Linked DNA regions of Homo sapiens: all the other regions are linked to region 1. The links are contacts of gene promoters, found by promoter capture Hi-C in blood cells and fetal thymus (Javierre and others, 2016). All regions are on one chromosome and are shown on one strand. Each heading gives the region's core, a stretch centred on a gene start or on the middle of the fragment in contact. The rest is flanking DNA. Distances are from core to core; before and after follow the strand shown.

What was found. The method cuts DNA at HindIII sites, captures the fragments that hold promoters and counts their contacts. A CHiCAGO score of 5 or more calls a contact.
Region 2: the fragment with the promoter of MTG2 here is called in contact with a fragment that was not itself captured in region 1 in 2 of 17 cell types (monocytes and neutrophils); the score reaches 6.9 in monocytes.
Region 3: the fragment with the promoter of CABLES2 here is called in contact with a fragment that was not itself captured in region 1 in 1 of 17 cell types (neutrophils); the score reaches 8.4 in neutrophils.
Region 4: the fragment with the promoter of HRH3 here is called in contact with a fragment that was not itself captured in region 1 in 1 of 17 cell types (neutrophils); the score reaches 8.5 in neutrophils.

What each region holds. Positions count from the first base shown.
Region 1 is chr20:62,929,924-62,934,759 of GRCh38, reverse strand. It overlaps a transcript of DIDO1 not described here. Among named protein-coding and RNA genes, the nearest start is that of GID8, 5.8 kb to the left of the region's middle. The HindIII fragment of the contact is 6,579 bases long and covers 1-4,836 here.
Region 2 is chr20:62,180,684-62,185,175 of GRCh38, reverse strand. It overlaps MTG2 (mitochondrial ribosome associated GTPase 2), which reads right to left and starts at 2,148. Exons shown (of 7, transcript NM_015666.4): 1 at 2,119-2,148. SS18L1 (SS18L1 subunit of BAF chromatin remodeling complex) reads right to left here. Exons shown (of 11, transcript NM_198935.3): 11 at 2,662-4,492. RefSeq lists silencers at 1,930-2,099, 2,106-2,290, 2,330-2,519. The HindIII fragment of the contact is 5,602 bases long and covers 1-3,385 here.
Region 3 is chr20:62,404,120-62,408,680 of GRCh38, reverse strand. CABLES2 (Cdk5 and Abl enzyme substrate 2) reads left to right here and starts at 1,396. Exons shown (of 10, transcript NM_031215.3): 1 at 1,396-1,766. The coding sequence starts at 1,405. It overlaps LOC105372709 (a long non-coding RNA gene), which reads left to right and starts at 1,787. Exons shown (of 2, transcript XR_936967.3): 1 at 1,787-3,791. RefSeq lists a silencer at 1,230-1,479. The HindIII fragment of the contact is 20,791 bases long and covers 1-4,561 here.
Region 4 is chr20:62,217,520-62,221,964 of GRCh38, reverse strand. HRH3 (histamine receptor H3) reads left to right here and starts at 1,687. Exons shown (of 3, transcript NM_007232.3): 1 at 1,687-2,244; 2 at 3,308-3,474. The coding sequence starts at 1,995. RefSeq lists a silencer at 1,473-1,582. The HindIII fragment of the contact is 16,770 bases long and covers 1-4,445 here.

The DNA.
Region 1 (4,836 bases), core at 1,417-3,916:
CAAAACTCCCCATTTGATGGTTTTTGGTGAGAGAGCAAGAAGTTGAGAGATGTGATGGGAATGGGAAACATTGGAGTGTGGTGAGCAGGGGTGAGGTGAAGACAGCGTAGTATGTTGAAGGTGTTCAGAAGCCATTAGGGCCATGCACTTATGTACTGAGAAGTGAGCAGTGAGCTAGATGCCACAAAACGCTGCAGCAGCAGGTGAGACTGAGGAGCAGGGAGGGGGGTCAAGGATAATTTCTCAGCTTCTGGCCTATGAATTTATAGGGTGGTGGGACCATCCTCTGGATAGGGAACGCCAGAGAAGAGCCTGGAAGTATGTAGTAGGGAGGTCAGAAGTCCTAAGCTCATTTTGCATGTGTTAGGTAGGTTTTGAAGTGCATTTGAGGCATTCACGTGGAGATGCCAGGGGAGCAGGTGAATGATGGTGCCCAGATCCAGGCAGAGATAAAGGCAACTACAGCCAGGTGTGCATGAAGTCTCTGTGGAGAAGGGATGGGTGGAGGGAGAGGAGGAGAGCCTGGGCCAGAGCCCTGAAGCCACCAGCATGGAGGCTCACCAAGAGTGCAGGAGAGCAGGAAAGAGGTAGGTGGGTCCCGGGACAGGAGAGGGTGCAGGGCCACACGGGTTGGCATCTGGGACAGTGACAAGGACTTCAGCCTGCTGGATTCATCAACTGCCTGAGCTTTCCTATGACAGAGGTGGGCATGTGGATGAGAGAAACCAAAGGCTTGGCCCTTACAGTCAGCTGAGGGGCAACCAGGTGTTCAGAGCTTCCAGTGTCTTGCAAGCTGAGGTGGTGGCTTTGAACTTGAGTTGTTTCATATTGAAAGAGATGAACAGAAAGAGGAGTGCTAAAGGTATATTAATCTTAAAAGAACATTAATGAGTTTTTAAAAAGGGGAGAGCAGTTTGCCCAGGCTGGAGTGCAATGGTGTGATAATGGCTCACTGCAACCTACACCTCCCAGCTAATCCTCCCATGTTAGCCTCTTGAGTAGCTGGGACTACAGGCGGAAGCCACCACACCCAGCTAATTTTGTTTATTTTTTGTAGAGGAGAGGTCTCACTATGTTGCCCAGGCTGTTCTCAAACTTCTGCGTGCAAGCAGTCTTCCTGCCTCAGCCTCCCAGAGTGCTGGGATTACAGGTGTGAACCACTGCATAGAGTGCTTCCTTTACTCAAATCATAGAATGTTTAAAAACCAGGATATCAGCCATGTTTCAAAACCACATTATTCCCATGGATGTTTTGTTTTACTCTCAAAACCCAAAAGCATAAAATCAAACCCCTACATACTGGAGACTTCAGGCTTTCAAAGAGATTGGGCAAATCAAACCACCTTACTTTTCAGGATAATTGATAAACCCATCAGTTGTTGATGCTTAGAATGGTTAGCAGAAGTAGGTAGGAAACACTCAGACCTCAATTTTCATGAACTTCACTTTTCACAGTATTTTAAACAATTAGAGATGTTGGAAAGAGGTAAGGAAGAATTTTACTATTTAGTCTGCTGCACATATTCTTTTGTTGTTGTTTTTTTGTTTGAGACAGAATTTCACTCTTGTTGCCCAGGCTGGAGTGCAATGGCACGATCTTGGCTCACTGCAACCTCCGCCTACCGGTTTAAGCGATTCTCCTGCCTCAGCCTCCTGAGTAACTGGGATTACAGACATGCGCCACCACGCCCGGCTAATTTTGTATTGTTAGTAGAGATGGGGTTTCTTCATGTTGGTCAGGCTGGTCTCGAACTCCAGACCTCAGGTGATCCACCTGCCTGGGCCTCCCAAAATGCTGGGAATACAGGCATGAGCCATGGCGCCTGGCCTGCTGCACATATTCTGACACCATGTGTCTGGTGAACCCAGACCCTGTAAAGAATCTTCACTGGTGATTGTTTGATATAGGTGACCTTCCCCCTCCCTCTTTTTGCCTGATTTTATTTCCCTTTCTAGATTATACCACTAAATCAGAAAGCACTGAATATTTTGTAAGTTTGTTTGGGTGAGAGCAAGAATAATCTTTTCTTGATTTTTATTTTTATTTTTTTAAAACCTTTAACTCCTGCTGAGGTTGAGACAAACCGTATCTAGCATACTGTTACCTGAAACAAATGTGGTAGGAGGGAAGGTGATACAGTCCTGCCATTGCAGACCAGTGGGAAAGGCCAAAGAGTATTTTGAGTAGCAATGTACATGGTCAAAGCATTGTTTATGTACTATTTCATTTGAGTTTGATTATGTAGTTTGAACCTGGCTGGTCAGGATTTGATAGACAGTTACTGGTTTGGGATCTGACTTTTCTTTTTTATAAAAATTAACAAAAAATATATGTAAATATACACACATACATGTGGATAGTTCTCTCTGTGTCTTAAGTTATTTGTATGCATGCAGCTGTTGTGATCACGTGTCTGATGGGCAGGTAGAAGTAGAAATAAGAGTTCCTATGTTTCCCAGGCTGGCCTTCAACTCCTGGGCTCAAGTGATCCTCTCTCCTGGGCCTCCCAAAGTGTCAGGATTACAGGCGTGAGCCACCGTGCCTGGCCCTACATTTACTCTTTAAATACTTTCCTATTGGAATGAAAGAGGCAGGGTGGCTCACACCTACAATCCCAGCACTTTGGGGAGGCTGAGACAGGGGAATCCCTTGAGGCCAGGAGTTTGAGACCAGCCAGGTCAACAAAGCAAGACCTCCCTGAAGGGAAAAAACCTCCAGTTCCCATTTGGGTGTCTTTTGGAAACTGCTAATACCTCAGTCTTTGTTGTTGTTGTTGGTATTTCCTCCAAACACACTCTTTCTCAGTTTTACCATTTTGTTTTTGTGAACTAAGCAAGAGCAGGAATTAATTTATATAGTTATTCATATCTGGACAAATTCTGGAAGGTTGCTGGAGTCTCTTTCACTTCTTAAAGTGTTTTCATTTAAGAAAAAAATCTTTAATTGTAGCCTGCACAATTGTAGCCCTATCCTTACCCCTAAGGTCCCATACTCCCAAGGCATTGAGGTTAGGTAGAAGGCCCAAGAATGGGGCCGGGGCCCATTGCGTCTGGAATGCAGTGTGAACTGATGGCTGTCTCTGACCTCATGGACATCCCTGCACCTTCCTCCTGGTGCTCGCCAGCAGGTGCAGGAATTCAGTCGTCTATGGGTTCGTTTCCCCTTTTTCGCGGGTCTCTATTCCGTGGTGTGAAGAGCCTGTAAGGGTAAATGTCCTATTTGGGTACAACCACTTTACTCTTATTCTGTCAGAATCTGTCCAAGCGTTTTTTTGGCTTGTTTGCTGTGTTCCTTTAAAGATGGTTGAGATAAAACCAGTCAGAAAAGAAATAGTTTTTTGCCCTATACTTAACTAAAATATTGATTTATTCCAAAGTTGTTTTTATTTACTTTTCACTGACCTCAAAGAGAAAACTTAGACACCTTAGAGAAACATGAAACATTCTCAGAGGAAGGAGTGATGAGCATGGTTCTGTATTAATGTGTTCACTCCTTAGCAGAAGATATAGAAATACTGCAGCTTAGGCCAGGCACTGTGGCTCATGCCTTCGGAATCCCAGCACTTTGGGAGGCAGAGGCGAGTGGATCCCTGGAGTTCGAGACCAGCCTGGGCAACATAGTGAAACCCCATCTCTACAAAAAATACAAAAACTAGCCAGTTGTGGTGGCATGCACCTGTAGTCCCAGCTACTCGGGAGGGTGAGGCAGGAGGGTTGCTTGAGCCTGGGAGGCAGAGGTTGCAGACAGCCAAGATCACACTACTGCACTCCAGCCTGGCAACAGGGTGAGACCTTGTCTCAAGGAAAACAACAACACAAACTGCAGCTCATTCTTTCTAAAGGTATCTGGAAAATGACAGAACTGAGAATAACATCCAGATTCAGTTCCCTGCCATGAGAAGTTCCTTTTGCCTTGTTTGTGGATATTGTTGTCAGTTCATTGCAGCTGTCTTGAGTAACTTACAGAGGCTAATGTGACCAAAGAAAGATCCATCATCCCTTGTTGTTTTTCTAGTTAAAAGTCATAGCACAGGTTTCTGGTAACATACAAATGATAAGACACTGTCCATAATTCTAATTACAACAATTCAGTTTGTATAGTAATTTGGTACAGCATTAAAGGGGGTGATGCCCTCCTCCCATCTCATTTCCCTCCCTTTTTCCTATTTCACATTTATTCTTTTGTCTAAAAGACAGAAAATTGGTATGATTCTCATATGCCGCATAGAACGTGTAGCTCCATCACATCCCACAGCTTTCTAGAGGTCTTTGGGGTTGGAACACAAAGTTTAACTTCTGTTTCTGTTTTTCCTTGAATTCTTTTGTTTCCTGGCCCTTTTCCATCTTGCCGGTTCCCCTTATGTTACCCACTATCGTCCATGCTCTCCCTCTGTGTTGGTTGTCTCAAAACAGCATTCAGCGGAATTCATTGAGTGGGTGAATTCTGTGAAGTTGCCTTTTCTGGCAGTGCTGTTACTCAGTGATGCACAAACGTAGCATTTGCCCTTTGGTAGACAAAGATCTGTGTTTTTTTTTTTTTTGTTTGTTTGTTTCTTTGAGACGGAGTCTCGCTGTCACCCAGGCTGGAGTGCAGCGGGTTCAAGCGATTCTCCTACCTTAGCCTCCCGAGTAGCTGGGATTACAGGCGCCTGCCACCACGCCCGGCTAATTTTTGTATTTTTAGTAGAGATGGGGTTTCACCATGTTGGTCAGGCTGGTCTTGAACTCCTAACCTCAGGACCTCAGGCGATCCACCCACCTCGGCCTACCTAAGTGCTGGGAACAGGCTTGAACCACCGCGCCTGGCAGATCTGGTTAGTATTCTTCAAAGGAGCC
Region 2 (4,492 bases), core at 899-3,398, 750 kb after region 1:
TCCCAAATTGCTGGGATTACAAGCATCAGCCACCACGCCCTGGCCATTTTTTTTCTTTTTTATTTGAGGCAGAGTTTCACTCTTGTAGCCCAGGTTGGAGAGCAATGGTGGGATCTTGGCTCACTGTAACCTCCGCCTCATGGGTTCAAGTGATCCACTCGCCTCAGCCTCCCGAGTACCTGGGATTACATGCACCCACCACCACACCCAGCTCATTTTTGTATTTTTAATAGAGACGGGGTTTCACCGTGTTGGCCAGGCTGGTCTTGAACTCCCGACTTCAGGAAATCCACCTGCCTCGGCCCCCCAAAGTGCTGGGATTACAGGCGCGAGCCACCACACCCAACCAATATATCCACTTTTAAATGTATTCCTAACGATAATACCCTGCGAGGGGTAATACTGCATGCCGAGCTATCTTCCATTTGCTTTTCCAGACCAGCTTTCCACCCTGCCCTGTGCTGTGTGTCAGGAGCCTGAGCTTGCCCCATAGGAAAACCTACTGGGACCTGGCCCTCTACCAGAGACTGGAGGCAGGAGCAGGAGGCCGGGACATGGACCTCCCTGCCCACTCAGACTGAGGCTCACACCTCCAGTCCAAGAAGCCCTCCCCAGTGACTCTTCTCCCTGTCCCGATCACTGCTGCCTTCCCTGATCCTTTGGAGTCCAGGAGTAGAAACTCCACTGCCACCAGTTCCAGGCTAAAGGACCAACTGTCATTAACCTGCACTCTGCCTTTGCAAACGGTCCCTTTATAAACCCTCCTCAAATCCTCCTGTGAGCATGAAACCTGATTTTTTTTTTTTGGGTATGTTTTTGAGACAGAGTCTCGCTCTGTTGCCTAGGCTGGAGCAGAGTGGTGCGGTCTCGGCTCACTGCAACCTCCACCTCCCAGGTTCAAGCGATTCTCCTGCCTCAGCCTCCCCAGTAGCTGGGATTACAGGCGCCTGCCACCACGCCCGGCTACTTTTTTGTATTTTTAGTAGAGATGGGGTTTCACCATGTTGGCCAGGCTGGTCTTTAACTCCTGACCTCGTGATCTGCCCGCCTTGGCCTCCCAAAGTTCTGGGATTACAGGCGTGAGCCACCGCGCCCAGCGGAAACCTGATTCTTGACTTTACATTTTTTATGCCCATCTAAAGCAGTGGAGGCTGAGACTCACAGAGGTTCAGTCACTTGCCCAAAGTCACATAGTATCCTCTGGCCTCCCTGGCATGCTGCTGACACCTGCATTTTACGGCAGGAATCTTCTCACTGAGGTTCGCCTACACAGACTTCCCAAGGGACTAAGGCCAGGATAATTTCAAAGGAATCCATTTTCTGCCCAAGTTTCGCTACGTTCTCTCTGCTAAAACAGAACTGCCTGAGGACGAACCTGCGTTTAAAACAATTTGAATTCTCCTTTCCCGTCCCCCTTTTATAATGGGTCCTCCCCTTTACAAAAGAAAGGTATTTCTCTAGTGACACTGCCCAACAACCCCTCTAATTCCCACCTACAGGTCTGTGTGAACGCCGTTCCTCGGTATCCACAGCTACGAGAACGTAAATGGGAATAGAACGGGTAACCCGCTCTCACTGGGCAGAAGCCAGCCACGGACAGTGAATTATCTGGAAATGCGTCTCCCTGAGGCGCGTTTACAATACAAAACTTTATTGTTGTTTTATCATCCAAATGTGTATATATTTATGTTGTTTTGTGCAACTGTATACTGCCAATAATCACTTTAAAATGTTTAATACTTAGAGCGCTGGATCAAGGCAAATTCCTAACAACTTGACTCGGAACTCACACACGGCACCCATCCCGTGACAGAGCACCACCGGGGTGGCTGACAAGACTTCTGACCCCAAAACGCGGTTCTGCGGAGAGAGTGGGGCAGGACCGGGGAGCAAGGCGCCGCTCCCCACCGCCCGAGCGCTCGCTACTCCAGGGCCGCAGCGCTCGGTCCCGCCGGGGTTCGCAGCCCGGCAGCCCTCCAGGCCTCTCAGCTCCTAGGCCGGGGCCTCTCCCGCTCCCAGCGCCCCGGTACCCCGCGGCCCAAGCCGAGGCCCCTCCTTGCGCCCGGGCCGCGACCACCCCCCAGGCCCACGCTCCCCGCTCCCCGCTCCCGCACTCACCGGCTCGGGAAAGCACGTCACTTCCGGAGCGTCGCAAGCGGCCGACCACTTCCGGGGCCTTTTGGCTCCGGAAGCCCAAGGCTTGCCCAGTGCGCAGGTGCAGAAAACACGCCGACGGACCGAGAGGCGACCTTGTCCCTGGTAGCGGAAGCAGGAGCAACGGCAGGAGGGATGCGGAGCGCTCAGCTGCAGCCGCGCTTCTCGCCGGCGCCCTCGCTGCCCGAGCACAAGGACAGCCGCCCCGCCCGTTCCACCCGGTGCCCAAGGTCCCCCAGCTTCTCTGACCCCTCCGGCGTTTGCGGAACCTCCCGGGTCTGACGAGGACACCGCCGTTGCCCGAGGAGGCTACGGGGCAACGCAGAGCAGGCAGTGGGGACCGCAGGGCAGCCCCGGGGCGCCGTCCCCACCGCCCTTACCCTGGCTTCGCCTTGCCGCCGCGGGGAATCCGGTGCGGACGCACGCGAACTCTGCCCGGGAGCCGAGGTGACGATCTACCTGGTCTCGGTAATAAGTATTTGCAAAACACATCACACCAAAATCCCGTTAACTTCATGAAAACTCACTTTATAGGATGATTTTTGAAGAACCAGTTTATTAAGAGATTACACCAAAAGCATAAACAATTTATACGTCAAACTCCGACTGAAAAAAAAATAACCGATAAGGATGTTTTTTAAATGTACTGTACTCACAAATAACAAGACAAATTTGACCTGTTCAATAAATAGAAATGAAGTGGCTAAAAATGTTTAAATGGAAATGGAAAACAGTCGTCTTCTTTGTACAGTTTTGAAGGGGTGCCCCCTATTCACGCCTACACGTAGAAAAACCCTGACAAAATCAGAGGTTCACTTAACACTCCAACCATATGAGCGTATTAAGGTTTCTTTTCAGATCTTAGGAGATCTTGTCCACCTTAATCCCATTCACAGATCTTAGGAGATCTTGTCCACCTTAATCCCATCATAAAGACTGTTGGCATGAGTTCTGATGTACTGTTTTAATATGCTGAGTACTGTTGATTCAACAACAAACCTTAATGGGTGATGAGCTTTTGCATACCAATATGAATTTGTCAGCACTTCTGAAAACTGGCCATCATTTTTCAAATTCACAATTTGCTGGATGTCAGGGAACAATAGGAAGAAGAATGAGCGTCAATTTTCATGTCTTCCTTTGCTTCTTCACTGGCCTTCCATAGAAGTAGTCAGAAAAAAACAAAGCACCATCAACCACACTTCACAAACAATTCATGTTGGCCTAAGCTTTGCTCAACATTCATATGACAGAAGATAGAATAATGAAAAGGAACTGCTGGCATCACTTTCCCCATAATATTACATAAAAATGGACAGCACATTAAATAAACATTCTGTTATTAATCATTAAATATATTAACACCAAAAATCATGTATAAATTAGGAAATAAATGTACAAACTATTTTGCAAAGTGCTTTTTAAAATATATACACAACATTCAAGATATTCTTAATGTAAGACATTTCAGATTGAAGTTTTGGGGTAAGTGTCCTTTTCTTTCAGAAAGTATTATTAATACAGCACTTAAAAAAACACACAAACACACAAAAAAGGCATATTCCCAGATTGGCAAGGAATAAAAATAAACTATCTTCACAGTTATCTAAAATGTTTAACATTTTCAGTGGGAAATTTTAGTCCCCGATTGAGTTTGCAAATTAGGTCTATGAAAATTGACAGGAAAAGAACACAATCAAGGGAGATGACTCCCTAACTGAAATTGCTAACGCGTTTGTCAATTAGCAATTAAGAACTCTCATTTCGGTGATCGAATATGAACACATACGTTTATTTTTGAGCCCTTACCAGTGTTAAGGGTTTTAGAAACCCTTAGTGCCTACAAAATAAACACTTCTCTCCCCATTTGTGCGTGACATCCGTCTCCTAGGAGAGGGGAGAATGTCCTAGAACAGGACTGGTATTCAACACAGGCAAGTCCTTTAATCTGTGCCTCAGTTCTTCATCTCTAAAATGGGAACTGTTACCTGCCTCCAGATTTCCTCATAGGGGCTGTCAGAATTAATTCAAGCAAAACACATAAGTGACTTATAAATTCTAAAGCACCCGACTCTGGATAAAGAATTAATTTTAACTTATTTATTTATTTATTTATTTATTTTTTTGAGACGGAATTTCACTCTTGTTGCCTAGGCTCGGGTGCAATGGTGCGATCTTGCCCCACCACAACCTCTGTCTCCTGGGTTCAAGCCATTCTCCTGCCTCAGGTTCCCGAGTAGCTGGGATTACAGGTATGCACCACCATACCTGGCTAATTTTGTATTTTTAGTAGGGACGGGGTTTCTCCATGTTGGTCAGGCTGGTCTCGAACTCCCGA
Region 3 (4,561 bases), core at 147-2,646, 520 kb after region 1:
CCTACAGCGCTGGACACACTCACTCCCCGCTCACGGGAGCCCCCAGGCACACAAGTCAGCACCCCATTCTGTGGATCCAGAATCCGCAGCCACCCCTCTGCTATGCCACCCAGCCCCGCGTTCTCCTAGACAGGACAGCTGCCCACCTTCCCCTAGGCCTGGCAGAGGCCTTGGAGGCCAACTTGGAAGGGCGGAGGGAAAGGAAATGGAGGTGCTGCATGCTGCGTGAGCCCCAATGGTGGCCCGTGAAGGCCCACAGGAGGGAGCAGGCAGGCGGGAGGTGGGTAGGGGCCTGAAGGGCAGGGGCCCATGCTAGGGGTGGTGATGAAGACCCTGTCTTGCCCACTCGCCCACTGCCTTGTTGGCCATCATGCTGCCTCCCCACACACCAGGTGCTCCTAGGGCCAGCGCTGTGCCTGTCGGTCCCACCGGGTCCCCAGCACCCAGCACAGGAGAGGCTGGGCGCATGCGGGCAGGTGCGAGGTACTGCAGCGCATTCGCGGACTGACCACTGCATGTGCCTGGCCTCCGGCCACAGCCCGACCCCCTCACTGAGCCAGTTTCATCCTGACAGTACCCTGAGGCTGAAATCATTGTCCCCTCTTTAAAGATACGTAAACCCATGAAAGAAAGCTGGACAGAGCAGGCAGGTGACACAGAGGTGGGTGCAAGGTCCTGAGTCCCTCCACAAAGATACAGCGGGTTCCCCTCCAGACTGCAGACAGGCTCCCGGGCTCCAGAGGCAGGCCCTGACCATCCCGGTGCCACGGGCTCACAGGTTCTGAAGTCAGGGGCACCCAGGCACAGAGAGGAAACAGGCCTGGGCACAAGGCAGGCTCAAGGTCACTTTGCTACTGCAGGAAGTGCAGGACTCTGCCTGGGGCTTTGATCCCAAGCAGGTGCCTTCTCCACTCAGACCCTCGTTCCCTTCTGTCAATGAAGGAGGCCAGATGGCACGCGGGCCCTTCCGGGAAGCGGTGGGGCTCCTCCAGGGGCCGCCCTGCGCCCGCTGAAGCGCCGCCCAGACACACCTCCGGACAGGGAAGTGTGCTGGGGCCTCACCCACGCCGCCCTGGGTCCGGAGCCTTAAAATGTGCGCTCGATGGAGGCCATCCGCGAAGGCCGCCATACAGCAAAGGGAACAGAAAGCGAGAGCCCCGCGGCCGCAGGTCCCAAGACGGGGACTCGAACCGGCGGGGAGGCGCGCAGCTCCCGACTCCCTGCTGCTGCGTCCGACCGCCTCTAGGACCCAGGGGAGCGCCCTGAGCGCGGCACCTCGCTGGCCAATGGGAGAGCGCGACGGCGATACATTTGCATGTGGGCGCGCCGCGGCCAATGGGCGGCGGGCGCGCGGGCGCGCGGGCAGGGGGTGGGGCGCTTCGCGGCGGCGGGCGCAGTCTGAGGATGGCCGCGGCCGCGGCCGGTGGAGCCCCGGGCCCGGCCCCCGGCCCCGCCGGGCCCCCGCCACCCGCCGCGCCGACCTCGGCCGCTCGGGCCCCGCCGCAGGCGCTGCGGAGGCGCGGGGACTCGCGGCGCCGCCAGGCCGCGCTTTTCTTCCTCAACAACATCTCCCTGGACGGGCGGCCCCCGAGCCTGGGCCCGGGCGGAGAGAAGCCCCCGCCGCCGCCCGCCGAGGCCCGCGAACCGCCAGCGCCGCCGCCGCCGGAGCCCCCCACCGGGCTGCCCGCCAGGACCCCCGCGCCCCAGGGCCTGCTCAGCCCCACGCAGGTGCCCACCGGCCTCGGCCTGGATGGGCAGCGCCAGAGGTGAGTGGGGGCCCGGCCAGGTCAGCCCAGGACGCGGGGTACAGGGACGGGGACGGGGGCCGGATCAGCCCAGGACTAGGGGTCAGGATTACTTGGGGCCTCATCAGCCCAGGACAAGGGGGTCAGGTGACCTGGGGCCTTGTCAGCCCTGGACAGAGGCCAGGACAAAGGGGTTGGGTTCACCTGGGGCCTTGTCAGCCCTGGACAGAGGTTCAGGTGACCTGAGCCCCTGTCAACCCAGGACACAGGGGTCAGGGTCAGTCTGGGCCCTCATCAGCCCAGGACACAGGGGTTGGGTTCACCTGGGACCTTGTCAGTCCTGGATACAGAACTGGGGGTTCCTGGGCTGGCTGAGGGTTTCCTCAGGCCCTGTCACCCCCCACACATAGGGTTCATTGTCCCCTGAATTCTCCCAGCCCCTGAATACGGGGTCTGGATCTCCACGTTGTCAGTGCTCTGAAATGGGTTTTAGGGTTCAGCCCTTATTACCCCTGAGACCCCCAGCCCTGTGGGTTCTGGACATGCCCCCACCCCCATCCACTGGTACCAGTGCCCGGGACACAGGGACACATGGACAGCCCTGTGCATCTCTTCGCATTCTTTGAACCGGGCCACACCGTCCATGCCCACCTCCTCAGACCCAGCATGTGGGCCGGGGTCCTCCTGGCACTGTCACTGACACCTGTTCCCAGAGGCCCCTGCACAGCCACATCTCCCATCCCACAGCCACTGGTCTCTGGCACCCCTCCTCTCCCTGTCACTTCCCTGCTGAGCCCCGCCCTTCCCCACATCACTCTCAGCTCGGTATCTTTGGGTCTGTCACACCCTGGGTCTCCACTGCTCCCCCTGCCTTGATTCCATTTCTGGGAACCACCTCAGCCCATCCCAGGGCAACCCCAACCATGAGCCCTGCCTGTCCAGCGTGTGCCCCCTGCCCAGATGGCCCCTGGCTGCCCGACACCCTGTGTCCTTCTCCCAGAGACCACAGGACCTGGGTGACCCTGCCTCCCACAGCCCTCACCTCCAGGAGTGACTGTGGGCTCTGGGCCCAGGACTGGCTGCTTGTTGCGGTTCCTTCTCAAAGGGAGCCACTGTCCACAGGTCCAAGTGCCTGCTGGGCGGCTGTTCCCAGAGGCAGCCCCTGCAGGTGTGCAGCAAAGGGGCCGACACAGAGCTCTTGGGTCAAGGCTGGCACGTGCTCCTTGCTTACCTGGAGGTCATCAGAGTTGCCCCACGCCCCTGGCCTTCGGGCAGGTGGAGGCATTGGGTTCCTCTAAGGTCTTTGGTTGGGGAAGTTTGGGCCCAGAACACAGCACTCTGTCCTCAAAGACTATGACGTCACATGCAGGTTGCGTCACACGCAGGTCGCGGTGCACTCCATCCTTGGAAGTGTTCCTGGCCGTAGCCAGGCTGAGGGTGCCTGCAGACCCAGGCCTGTCCACAAGATGTCCCCCCACGGACATGCCTGGCCGCTGCTCCAGGGAGGGTCAGAGGGATGATTGGGGCAGAGGGATGGATTTGCCCAAATGTGGCAGCCAGGCCCCATGCATTTGGCATGGCCAGCTCCTTCAGGAAGGCGGGAGAGATGGAACAAGGTGGTGACTCTCCAGGGCAGAGCGGCAAGGCCCTAAGGTGTGGACTCCAGGGGAAGCGGGCTCACCCCAACGGGCCGAGCTCCGCAGGTGTGGTGGGCTTTTCCCTAACCCCGGGCCCTGTTGTTTGACATGGAAACAGCTTTCTCCCTCAGTCCTGCATGTTGAGTGTCCAGAACCGGATGGTGACACCAGGCAGACTGGGTGCTGTCATAGGCCCTCCTTCCACAGAGTTCATGCACCCCTGTGTGCACCAGGCCTGGCGTGGAGTGGAGCCCACTTGAGTGGAGGGAGGCAGAGCGTGGCGACGCGCAGGGAAGTGCCTGTGACTGAGAAGGCACCCCCTGCAGGCCCAGAGCCTCCATGGTGACAGTTCTGAGCGCAGCATGCTGCCCACGTGCAGCACATCCCTGCCCTGTGGGATTGTTAGAAGGTGCGCTGTGGCCGGCATCCCTGGGACAGGATGGGACGTGGCATGGGCTGGGTGCCTGCAGTCCTCCTGCCGTACCCACCATGGGCCCAAGCGCCACCACCCCTTGCCTTGCCCAGGGCTGTCTCCTCCCTTCCCTCCTCCTTGGCCCCCATGTCCCTGTTCAGGTCTTTCCTGAACCCCACTCTGTTCCTGGAGGGGGAGGCGTCCCTCCTGGGGCTCTGCTGCCAAGTTCGTGGTGCTGACCTTGTTTCTGAGGGCCATGGCCCCTCCCTGATAGGTAGACCCCAGCGTGAGGACGTCCATTTCACCCTGCGTTCCCTGGGCCTGGCTGCTGATCGAGGGAAGGGTGGCTGCCCCGGCAAAAGGGGCTGCTAGCTCCTGGCTTGAGAGTTCTAGGATGAGTTGGTTTCAGGAAATGGAGAGAATTCTGAAAGTCCTGAAGGCAGCCCTGATGTTGGTCTTGTGAGTGTGGTGGTTTGACCTGGGCTCTGGGAACAGACTTGGCTTGGAATCCCAGCTGCACTGTTCAGTACCTCTGTGACCTTGAGCAGGTGACATGGCCTCTCTGAGCCTCAATCTCCTCTGAGAAGCGGGTTCACACTAAGCACTAAGCATGGCCTCCCTGAGGTCAGAGGTCAGATGCGTGCCCAGGGCTTGGTGAGGTATGTGGCAGGAGTCAGTGTGAGATGAGCAGAGCCTCTTTTTTTTTGAGACAGGGTCTCTCTCTGTCTCCCAGGCAGGAGTGCAGTGGCGCAATCACAGCTCACTGC
Region 4 (4,445 bases), core at 438-2,937, 710 kb after region 1:
AGGGCCTGGGGAGGAGTCCTCTCAACAAGGAGTTCTGGTTTGGGTGGGGACAGTGAGTCAAGAGCTGCAGCAGGCATGGGTGGCAGCTCTGATGGCCCCACAGCCCCTTGCTGCCCAGCTCCATGGAACTTTTCCCCTTGAAAACTTTTCCCTGGTCCAGGCAGAGTCCCTCCACACTGGGTGAGTTGGGGTGGGGTGCAGGGAACGTGGGGGAGCCTGTATGAGGAGTAGGGTTTGCAGGTGGAGTGGGATGAGTACAACCAAGCAGTCAGAGAGGGAAGCCGAACCCCTCCCCCAAGAGCAGACTCCTAGAAGCCGTGAAATAGTGGGCTGACTGGGGCCACGGGTCTGGGGGTTCCTTTCTGCAGTCAGCCCTGAGGTGGCAGCAGAGGAATCCCAGCTCCTCCTTCCCCAAAGTTTCTGAAGCGCCACGGGGGGCGAGGGGAAGGGGCAGGTCCCCACAGTATGGGGAAGCTGCTATAAGTAGGGGAGTGACGGTGCATGTCAGCGCCCGGGGTCCCCTCTGCAGCCCCTCCCCCAGACACGCGCACTCTGGCCTCTTTGAGGCACCAGGGATGCCTTCGGCTGCTTCCTTCTCCTGTGAGCGGAGTTGCTGCTTCCTTCTCCTGGGGCGCGGCTCCCTCCCTGCCTGCTGTCTGATGTGTGTCTCGCTCTTGGTGGGTCCTCAGCCTGGCGCTGGTGGCTGCTTCCCTGGCCTGTGGGTGTCTGTGTATCTGAGTGTGGGCATGTCTGTCTGTCTGCCCTCAGTGTTTCAGGAGGAATCTGTCCTTGACCCGGTGTATCTGAGCGCATGTGTCTGGTGGTGGGGGCGCTCCCTCCTGCCACCTCTCCTCTCCTCCCCCGTCCCCTCCCACAGGCGCTAACACAGCCACCACCTGCGCCCTGAGCGCAGTGACCTCGTCTGTCCGCTGCAGTGGCGACTGCCCCTCTGTCCACAGGGGTCCGTGGCTGGGCTCCGAGCGGCTTGCTGCTCCCTCCTCAGCCTGAGGCCGCCGGAGCCCAGGCTAGACGCGCTCCCCTCCGGCTGGGTCCGCCCGGCGCCTCATCTTCCCTTATGTAACTCCACATCTGCCTGCGCCTTGCGGGTCACCCTGGACCCTGCACTGGGCCCTGTCCACACGGAGGCTGGCACCCAGGGTCCGTGCAAACGGGAGGTGGAGCGGACCCCTGGTCTGGGCACCGGCTTTCCAAGACCCCCTCCTCCCCATCCCTTCTCCTCCAGACGTTCCTTGCCCCGGAGACCCACATTCCCAAAACATGCACCGAGGAAATGCCCCGCAGGGCAAGTCCCCGGAGCGCGGGTGCAGGCGTTTCCCCCACCCCCACCCCGGGTCCCCACAGGCGCCAGGGCTCTCCATGATGACCGGGCAGGGGTCACCAGGGCCGAGGGCACGGGAAAGGCCGAGCAACCCAGACCCCGGCTCCGAGTGCGCGGGCTGACTGACCGCAGGCGAGCCCCCAGACCCGGTCAAGCCCCGGCCGGGCTCCCAGCCAGCTGCTGTGAGCGCAGGGGCTGGGCTCCAGGCAGCCTGGCGGGCACGCGGCGCTGTCCGTGGTGCTGCCGGCGCCGGGCGGGGCGGGGGCGGGGAGGGGGCGGGGCGAGGGCGGCAGCCAATGGCGGGGGCGCTGCGCGGGGCGCGCGGGGCGGTGGGCTGGGCGCGGGGCGCACTCGGCTGCGCGTTGCGCTCCGGCTGCACGGTCGCACCGGCAGCGGCTCAGGCTCCGGCTCCTCTCCCGCTGCAGCAGCCGCGCTGCCGGCCCCACTGGGCTCGGATCCGGCCCCGGCCCCCTCGGCACCGCCTGCTCTGGCCCCGGCCCCGGCCCCGCGGACCATGCGCTGGGCGCCCCCAGGGGAACCCGACCCGGCCAAGGGCCCGCAAAGACGAGGCTCCCGGGCCGGGGCCCCTCCCGGCCGCCCAGCTCTCGGCCGGCGCCCTGCCCCGCGTCCCGGAGCCGCGTGAGCCTGCGGGGCCATGGAGCGCGCGCCGCCCGACGGGCCGCTGAACGCTTCGGGGGCGCTGGCGGGCGAGGCGGCGGCGGCGGGCGGGGCGCGCGGCTTCTCGGCAGCCTGGACCGCGGTGCTGGCCGCGCTCATGGCGCTGCTCATCGTGGCCACGGTGCTGGGCAACGCGCTGGTCATGCTCGCCTTCGTGGCCGACTCGAGCCTCCGCACCCAGAACAACTTCTTCCTGCTCAACCTCGCCATCTCCGACTTCCTCGTCGGTAAATCCCCAGCCCCTGGCCGCTGGGGACCCAGGGGCGCCCAGCGTGGCCGGGCCAGCGGGGACTGGAACACGGACCTGGGTGGCTCCCGCAGGCACACGCCCCACCAGGGGACCCGGCCTGGGAAGGGGGCGTCCGGAGCCCATGGGGTGGGGGGCACAGGCGAAGTTCCTTGCCACTCAGGCCTCGGGACAGGGGCTGGGGAGAGATGTCCCCGGGAAGGGACACGGGCACTGGGCGAGGCGCAAGGCGCAAAGGCAGCGGGTGCAGCTCTGGCTCCTGCGCTGTAGCCAAACAAAGGCTGCTGCGGACTTAGGACGCGCGGAGGGCGCAGTGGGGCGGTTTAGAGAAGGTCTGGGGGAGGGGACATGGAAGGGGGATTTTTAGAGCTGTGTTGGGGGAAGGGACGGTGGGGAAGGTGGGGGTTGGGGGAGACGCTCGGAGGAGCGTGCTCTCACGTGTCCAGGCTCTGCTGCCGGCTGGGGGGCGGGGCACGCGGAGGGGGCTGGAGCGCCAGACACCTGTTGGGGCTGTGAGGTGCGTCTCCCAGACGCTCCAAGCCCGCTTGGCAGTAGTAGTAGCGGCTGGCGGCTGGCGGCTGCAACCAAGTGCCCTTTCAGCCAGGAGAAAGGCTTTCTCCTTGTCTAAGCTGAGACCGAGGGTTGTCCAGCGCCAGGGTAGGGGCTGGAGTCCAGCGGGGGAGGGGAGAAGGAAATTGTCTTCTTTCCTCCTTTGAGGGCTGGGAGGGCTGGACAGAAGTCCAGGGAATCCCGACTCCAGGCTCTCGGGGGTCTTGTGGTGGCCAGAGTTCCCCATGCCTGGATCATCCCTCCTGCCCCCAGGCCCAGGGGACACAGATAGTGCTGGGAGCTATGTGGGGGTGAAGGCTGGCGGCAGGGCAGAGTTTGTGGCTGACACCAGGTGGAGGGGTGGTAAGATGAGGATGGCTAGTTCCAGAAAAGCAGCCACCATGTGACCCCAGGTCCCGCCGGTGTCTGCGCTTAGGTCCGTCTGTCCCCTGGCCCCTGGCTGCATGGTCCCACTGTGGCCCTACTCCCCACAGGCGCCTTCTGCATCCCACTGTATGTACCCTACGTGCTGACAGGCCGCTGGACCTTCGGCCGGGGCCTCTGCAAGCTGTGGCTGGTAGTGGACTACCTGCTGTGCACCTCCTCTGCCTTCAACATCGTGCTCATCAGCTACGACCGCTTCCTGTCGGTCACCCGAGCGGTGAGTCCTGGGCTGCGGAGCTCCTGTTCACTCCGCAGGGACAGTCGGGACGCCCATGGGAGGCACCTGGGTGGGGACGGCCACTTCTGAGTTGTGGGCAGAAGTGGGCTTGGTCCCACTGGCTTTGCTGCTGACACATGGGCCACTCGACGGCCAGCTGCCCACTCGGGGCCATGGCTGCAGCCAGACTGACCTGGCCCAGGCAGGAGACGGGGAATCTGGATGCAGATGGTCCTGAAGGCAGGGCTGTCGCTGCAGCCCCCGCCCTGGGGCAGGTCCACAGTCCCCGGAGTTAAGGGAGGATCTGGGGCCAGACGCCCTGGGTGACATCCCTCCCACATGCGTGTGTGCAGCGTGCACACACACACAGGCCCCGGGAAGGCAGGCGGCAGATCCTGGCTCCGCAGATTTCCCTTTGTGGGAGCGGCCACCTGAGTCAGGGACCCTGCCCCACCCAGGCTCCCGCATCGGGGCCATGCAGCCCAGGGAGCCGCTGCTGAAGTCACACCTTCCCCTTCTCATCTCCTTGGCAGCTCACGTCCCCAGGGCTTTATGAGGGCCTCTGCAGGACTGAGGGCAGGTTGTTTGGTTCTAGCCTAGAAAGGCTAAGAGACAGGGTGCAAAGAGCATGGCTTTGGGTTCCTCTTGAGCCCATCCCCCTGTGGTCTCTCCCTCCTTTCCTGGAGCCACCAGGCATGGGGCACAAGGAGAGCTGCCACGAAGGGTAAAGCGGCCGAGCAGAGAGCCTGGCATGGGGGTGCTCTGCCCACCTCTCATTAGCAATAGCTGTGAACATTGCTCCCACCGTCACCAAGGTAAACGCCATCAGGCTGGTGGGGGAGGGTGGCAGGGGCTCTCAGGTCCTCCTCCTCGAGCTGTCCTACCTGAGACCCCTCAGTGGGATCCCTTGGCCCTCCTGCCCCCTGCCCCCACCAGCTGGTTGCTCTCTGCCCTGAGGAGGGCCCTGCCCT